2 separate regions of the Homo sapiens genome follow, and region 2 is linked to region 1. Evidence: promoter capture Hi-C in human tissues and cell types (Jung and others, 2019). All regions are on one chromosome and are shown on one strand. Each heading gives the region's core, a stretch centred on a gene start or on the middle of the fragment in contact. The rest is flanking DNA. Distances are from core to core; before and after follow the strand shown. Region 1 holds the start of FBN1 (fibrillin 1). Region 2 has its middle 30 kb from the start of ATP8B4.

The links. Contacts are between HindIII fragments. The study calls those that stand out against the background at their distance.
Region 2: a fragment that was not itself captured here is called in contact with the fragment with the promoter of FBN1 in region 1 in 1 of the 25 tissues and cell types used here (lymphoblastoid cells).

Annotation. Positions count from the first base shown.
Region 1 is chr15:48,644,000-48,647,111 of GRCh38, reverse strand. It overlaps FBN1 (fibrillin 1), which reads left to right and starts at 1,403. Exons shown (of 66, transcript NM_000138.5): 1 at 1,403-1,537; 2 at 2,162-2,506. The coding sequence starts at 2,343. It overlaps FBN1-DT (FBN1 divergent transcript), which reads right to left and starts at 1,307. Exons shown (of 2, transcript NR_183872.1): 1 at 282-1,307. RefSeq lists enhancers at 1,239-1,328, 841-1,365 and silencers at 1,439-1,518, 1,559-1,738, 2,149-2,278, 2,379-2,428. The HindIII fragment of the contact is 10,434 bases long and covers 1-3,112 here.
Region 2 is chr15:50,147,394-50,150,505 of GRCh38, reverse strand. It overlaps a transcript of ATP8B4 not described here. Among named protein-coding and RNA genes, the nearest start is that of ATP8B4, 30 kb to the right of the region's middle. The HindIII fragment of the contact is 5,114 bases long and covers 1-3,112 here.

The DNA.
Region 1 (3,112 bases), core at 154-2,653:
GGTGAGACCTTAAAGTACACCACATACATACTTACAGGACTATGGCTTTAGATCAGCTCATAGTTCCCACAGTTTTTCTGTTTCATCTTCATGTATCACAGCAGTTCAGCATGTCCATCATCACCATTACAACCCTGTGTGGTGGACACTACAAGTCCCATCTTGTATTTGGAAAGAAGTTGAATAACTTGCCCAGGTCTCTCTACCCTACTGTCTGGGCCCCTTTACAAACGGTTACAAATAAGGAAAATCCCTTTCAACAAGATACATTCCCAGGGTACCTGTTTGTGCTGAGCTTTTATTATTGGCTTGACAGCAGGCTGGTGGCTGCTTGCAGGGGATCTTCTGGGGGTCTCCAGTTACAGCAGCCAGGACCCAGTGTGCGACTTCAGGCCTTCCTAAACTGTTACAGGGTGCAGGCATCATTGGGCATTATCCATATAAGGATGCCACAAATACTATACCTTTCAAAGCCACTAAATTCACTGTGCCGCGCATATCCTGGGGAGAGGCAGCTGTGTGTGGGGGAGGGCGAGGGGACCGGGAGGGTGTAAGTAGAGTCCTCCAGATGAACCCCAGTCTTAATCTGGGCTGGGCAAGAGGACCATCCCTTCACCGCTCCCATCCTACATCCTAGGTTCCAACATTTACAGGCCCCTGGGTTGGACACCGACTTAGAGAGAGCACCCTGGATTCAGGCCTGGGTGGCTTGAATTGAGCCTCAGAAGAGCCGCGTCTGGAGTGGGCTCTCGACACCCAGGGCAAGTGGGGGCGGCAGAGCCCTCTCCTCGGTCGGCACAGCAGCCTCTGCCGCGGTCCCGGCCTGCGACGCGCCCAGTCTTAGCCTCCCGGCCTCCGGCGTCTGCTGAGTGTCCGGCGGGAGAGGCGCAGGGAGCGCGCTACCGGGAGGCGCGGGCAGCGGGGACTGGTTTTCTCTCGGGCCAGGGCCTCCGGGGCAACCGTCTCCAGCGCGCATTCTTGGTGCAGGTGGAACAGCTTTCTGCTCCGGTAGGGCTTCACCTATCGCGGGAGAGGTTAATCTCGGATCTAAACCTCGCAGCCGCAGAGCGGGCTAAAACCGCTACTCCACCTCTTCCCATTTCTCCCCTCCCCACCTCAAGACAAAAAGTCCCAGGCCGGGCAGGACCTGATCACCTCTGCCTCCTCCCACTGCGCTAATCCTGCGAGCGAGAGGCCCCGCACCGAGGCGGAGGCTGGCAAAGGGGAGTGGAAAGGGAGGATGGATGGGGCCGGGGGGTGGGGTGGTGATGAGGGCGACGAAGGAGGGGGTGTCATTTTCTTTTTCTTTCTTTTTTTAAAAAAAGTATTTCTCTCGCGAGAAACCGCTGCGCGGACGATACTTGAAGAGGTGGGGAAAGGAGGGGGCTGCGGGAGCCGCGGCAGAGACTGTGGGTGCCACAAGCGGACAGGAGCCACAGCTGGGACAGCTGCGAGCGGAGCCGAGCAGTGGCTGTAGCGGCCACGACTGGGAGCAGCCGCCGCCGCCTCCTCGGGAGTCGGAGCCGCCGCTTCTCCAGTGGGTGCAGCCGGGGTCCCGACGGGGGTCGGGCGGCCACCGGGGCTGGAGCTGCGGCCACGGAGGCTTTTGCGTTTGCGCCGCGCCGAGGGCAGGGACAGGGACTGGGGTGAGGGGCTGTCCCGGAACGTCCACAGCTGGCGCTGGCCCTCCCCTGCCTGACAGCTTCCTGGCCCGGGGCTCTTGGTGCCGGGCTCCGCGTCAGATGTTCGGGGGGCGGTGGCATCGCCCGGAGTCGGCGGGGACGGCGCGGCTGGCTTCCAGCCTGGCGGAGAGGGCAGGCTGAGGAGTGGGGCGTTCAGAGCGCGCATCGCGCGCAATTCGTGCCGCTAAAAAAAATAAACCCAGAGAGCTCGCCCGGGGCTTAGGACCGCTGGGGATATGGGTACTTTGCGCCGCGCTCTTCTGGCGGGGCCCGGGAGGCCGAGGGATCGGCCGGGGCTGCTGCCGCCGGGGGCCTGGGCTTTCCAGCCAGCTGTGGACCAAACGGTCTTCCCTTACCCAAATTAACTGCGCCACGCGCAGGCGGCGCACGGGTTGGGCTTGGGAATGGGGACCGCGAGGCTTCAGCATCCCGATGCCCTGAAAGTCTCCCCGCCTCGGGGATTTGTCTCTGTGTTGCAGCTGGCAGGGGCCGCCTGAAGTGGGAGCAGCGCCTGGAGAAGGCGGGAGGAGCCCGGCCCGGGGGACGGGCGGCGGGATAGCGGGACCCCGGCGGCGCGGTGCGCTTCAGGGCGCAGCGGCGGCCGCAGACCGAGCCCCGGGCGCGGCAAGAGGCGGCGGGAGCCGGTGGCGGCTCGGCATCATGCGTCGAGGGCGTCTGCTGGAGATCGCCCTGGGATTTACCGTGCTTTTAGCGTCCTACACGAGCCATGGGGCGGACGCCAATTTGGAGGCTGGGAACGTGAAGGAAACCAGAGCCAGTCGGGCCAAGAGAAGAGGCGGTGGAGGACACGACGCGCTTAAAGGGTAAAGGAACCGGTTCCCTCCTTTGGTGTGGGTCTCCCAAGTTTCAAGATCCAGAACAACGGGCAGGATGACTCTCCCTGTGGAAGACTCCTTGGCAAGACCTCCTGGGGGCACCTTAGAGGTGCTAGGGTTGTTTAGTCCCCACCCCGTTCGTGGTTAAACTACCTTGCCCCTACTCCCAGAGATTTCTGCCCCAAAGGAGAGGACGTGGTTAAATGGAATCTTGGGCCATTGTTGAGGCAGATTTTGGGAGGCGAGAAGAGTTCCTTGGGGAAGAAGGGGAGGAGTTGCGAGTGGGATAAGAGGAGAAGCCCGTTCCTTTCCCTGCAATATCAATTCTGGTTGTTTCTAGAGGAAAGTACTTTCCTTGGGGTCATCTTGGTAGATGCTGTATTTGAAAGGGGGCAAGGAAAGGAAGGGATTCCCATGACAGTCAGAGGAGAAATCACACAGTAGTTGACTCTTCCGTAAATTATGCTTATTAAAATTACGGATTGGGTTTTCTGGGCAATGCTTCCTTTAGATGTCTACATTGGAAGCAGAACAGGGCAAGTGGTTCTGAGAACTGGTTTTTTGAGTTGTGTGGGGCTCTCCGTTTCACTGCAG
Region 2 (3,112 bases), core at 421-2,920, 1.5 Mb before region 1:
AAATCCATCCTGGTACTGAGGGACATCAAAATCCAACTATAGGTTGATTGATCAGTGATGCTTTTGGAGAAAGATCTTGATGAAAAGGAGGGAAGTGTGAAAGTTCTCAGAATCAAAATGGAGTCCATTGTGTTAAAATCCTCCCTGAGAAATGGATCTGGGGTAGGCCATGCAGAGAAAAGTTCTCATGAAATGCCTGATAACACATACTATCACAAAAGACTCTGCAAAACTCCCAACCTTGCACAAAGACCATCACAGCCTTTTGCAAAAAATACTTTTATGTGGACATTTGCCCAGCAACTCACTGTTCAAGCTCACCTGCTGTCACTCTTGTTACTGTTACTGATCCTTGTAGCCAAGGATAATTATCTCAAAAACCACTATGAAATTTTTTTTTTTTTTGGGACGGAGTCTTGCTCTGTCACCCAGACTGGAGTGCAGTGGCGTGATCTTGGCTCACTGCAACCTCCACCTCCCGGGTTCAAGCGATTCTCCTGCCTCAGCCTCCTGAGTAGCTGGGATTACAGGCACCCTCCACCACACCTGGCTAATTTTTGTGTTTTTAGTAGAGACAGCGTTTTGCCATGTTGGCCAGGCTGGTCTCAAACTCCTGACCTCAGGTGATCCGCCTACCTTGGCCTCTGAAAGTTCTGGGATTACAGGCATGAGCCACTGTGCCCGGCCAACTATGAAATTTTCTTAATTTTTCTCTTAAAAGCCTTTGTCTTCCTTTACTGCCCTGAATACACACATAGTTTACTATGGCATGTGCTTTCCCACTGCAATGCCTTATTCCCAAATACATATCATTTATTTTTAGAGAGTCTTTCTTTGCTATTTAGGTTGATAAATGCCTCTATTAGAATTTCATTCTAATGAAGTAGTTTTTCATTAGATTCACTTCTCTTTTGAGCATATTATCATCATTATCATTATTATTATTGTGGTTATTTCTCTAAAGAGCTCCTCTCTGCAGTTGTTTCCTACCACCTCAGTGGACTCTGTGATGATCAAAGAGATCTGCTTCAAGGCTTAGTGCACATACACATATTATCCCCTCCCATGCTTGCCTTTTGTTTCCTTATAAACTGTTTAACCAGGAAAACAGGTCTGACTGATTTGAAGAGGAAGAGAGGTCAGCAGTCTATCACCAGATCAGACTCTACCAGTGATACTAGGATCTCCTTTCTAACTTCTGGCCTATAGCTTACTCTCTCTTGTCTTCTGTGTTTTATGCTTATGACATGACTCAGATAATATACAGGGACATACTGGGCACTACGGCAGACCTAGCCAATCAATCATGGCATTATCTTAGGCTGAGCCTAATCATGTGTCAGAATTGTTCTTAACACAATGTTCTCAACTGCCACCACCACATTCACATTTAACCCCTGAGATTAGTTCTGCTTATCATCTCTGTAGTATTGATTCATAGATGAACAAGAGAATCACCTGGGAAGCTTTAAAAATAGCATGATGTATTGTTATTTTTAAAAGGGATACTTATCTTTTTGAGATACATACTAAGTACTTATGGATGAAATGATGTTGAACCATTTGAGAGATAGTTGTAGACAATATAACATTTTATTCCTAAATACTTTCAGTACGTATCACTTAAAACAAGAGAATTTTGTAATCTAACTACAACAGAATTATAACACTTGGGAAACTTGAAGTCGATACAATTTTATTATCTAATATTACATTTAATATTATTATCTAATATGAATTCTTATTCAGTTTTCGAATTACTTCAATAATATCTGTGTTAGCCTGTTTTGTGCTGCTATTACAGAGTACCTTAGACTGGGTAATTTATAAAGAACAGAAATTTATTTTTTCATAGTTTTGGAGGCTAGAAAGTCCAAGATCCTTTGCATTAGCAGGTTTGGTTATCTGGTGAAGGCTGTAGCCTCCAAGAAAAGGAATGCTGTGTCCTCACGTGGCAGAAGGTGGAATGGCAAGGAATGCATACTGCATGAAGCCTCTTTTGTAAGGGCCTTAATCCCATTCATGAGGGAGGAGCTCTCATGGCCTAATCCCCTTTTAAAGGCCCCACCTCTTAATACTGTCATATTGGCAACACCTACATTTTGGAGGGGACACATTCAACCCATTGCAATGTCTTATAGCTTTTTTTTTGTAAACCATCCAAAAGCCAATCTAGATTACAGATTGCATTTAATATTAAATATAATTATTTATGTCTTTTATGTTTCCTTTAATCAAGAGCAGTTCCCCAGCTTTTCCTTGGTCTTTAATTGACATTAACATTTTTGGAGTCCAGGCCAGTATTTTGTTGAATGTTCTTTAACTTGGGTTTATGTGATGTTTCCTCATGATTAGATTCAGGTTTTGCAGTTTGGCAGGAACACTAAAGAAGTGGTGTTCTGTCCTTCTCAGTGTGTCAGACCAGGAGGCATCTGCTGCCTGATTGTCCCATTATTGCTCGTATTAAGTTGGATCACTTAGTAGAAATGCTAACTGCTAGATGCATTGGAAAGATATAGTTCTTCTTTGTAATTAATATGTATTGCATGGAGTTATACTTTTAGATTGTATAAATATTCTTTTACGCCCCAATTTCCCACTGAATGATTTTGGCACTCTTTGATGATCCTTGCCTGAATCTATTATTTCTATGGTGGTTCTGAGAGGGTGATTTTCTGTTTCTATCATTCCTTCCACATGCATTCATTGGCATCTTTTCTTTTTCTTTTTTTCCTCCTTTAAAGGTTGGGTATAGACTCAGCAATTTTCAAAAAATTCAATGTTATATATTCTTTTGTGTCATTGATCTTGGTTGGCTCCTGTGTCTTTTGGCAGGTCCCGATCAGCTTTTGAGCATGTTCTGATGTTCTGAAACAAAAGATGTTCCAGGATCACCTTGTGCTTCCCTTGACCCAGCCCTGGAATCAACCATTTCTCCGTGGGATCCTGCTTTTGTCTTTTGACTATGGTGTTTAGACATGGAAGCCAGGGTGCAGGTATACTCCTTCTGCAGGAGGGTTATTGCTTCTAGGCTCTTTCAATGGACAAAATAGGAAGTATATACTTTTTTTTTTTTTTTTTTTTTGGAGACAGTGTCTCTTTCTCTCTGTCA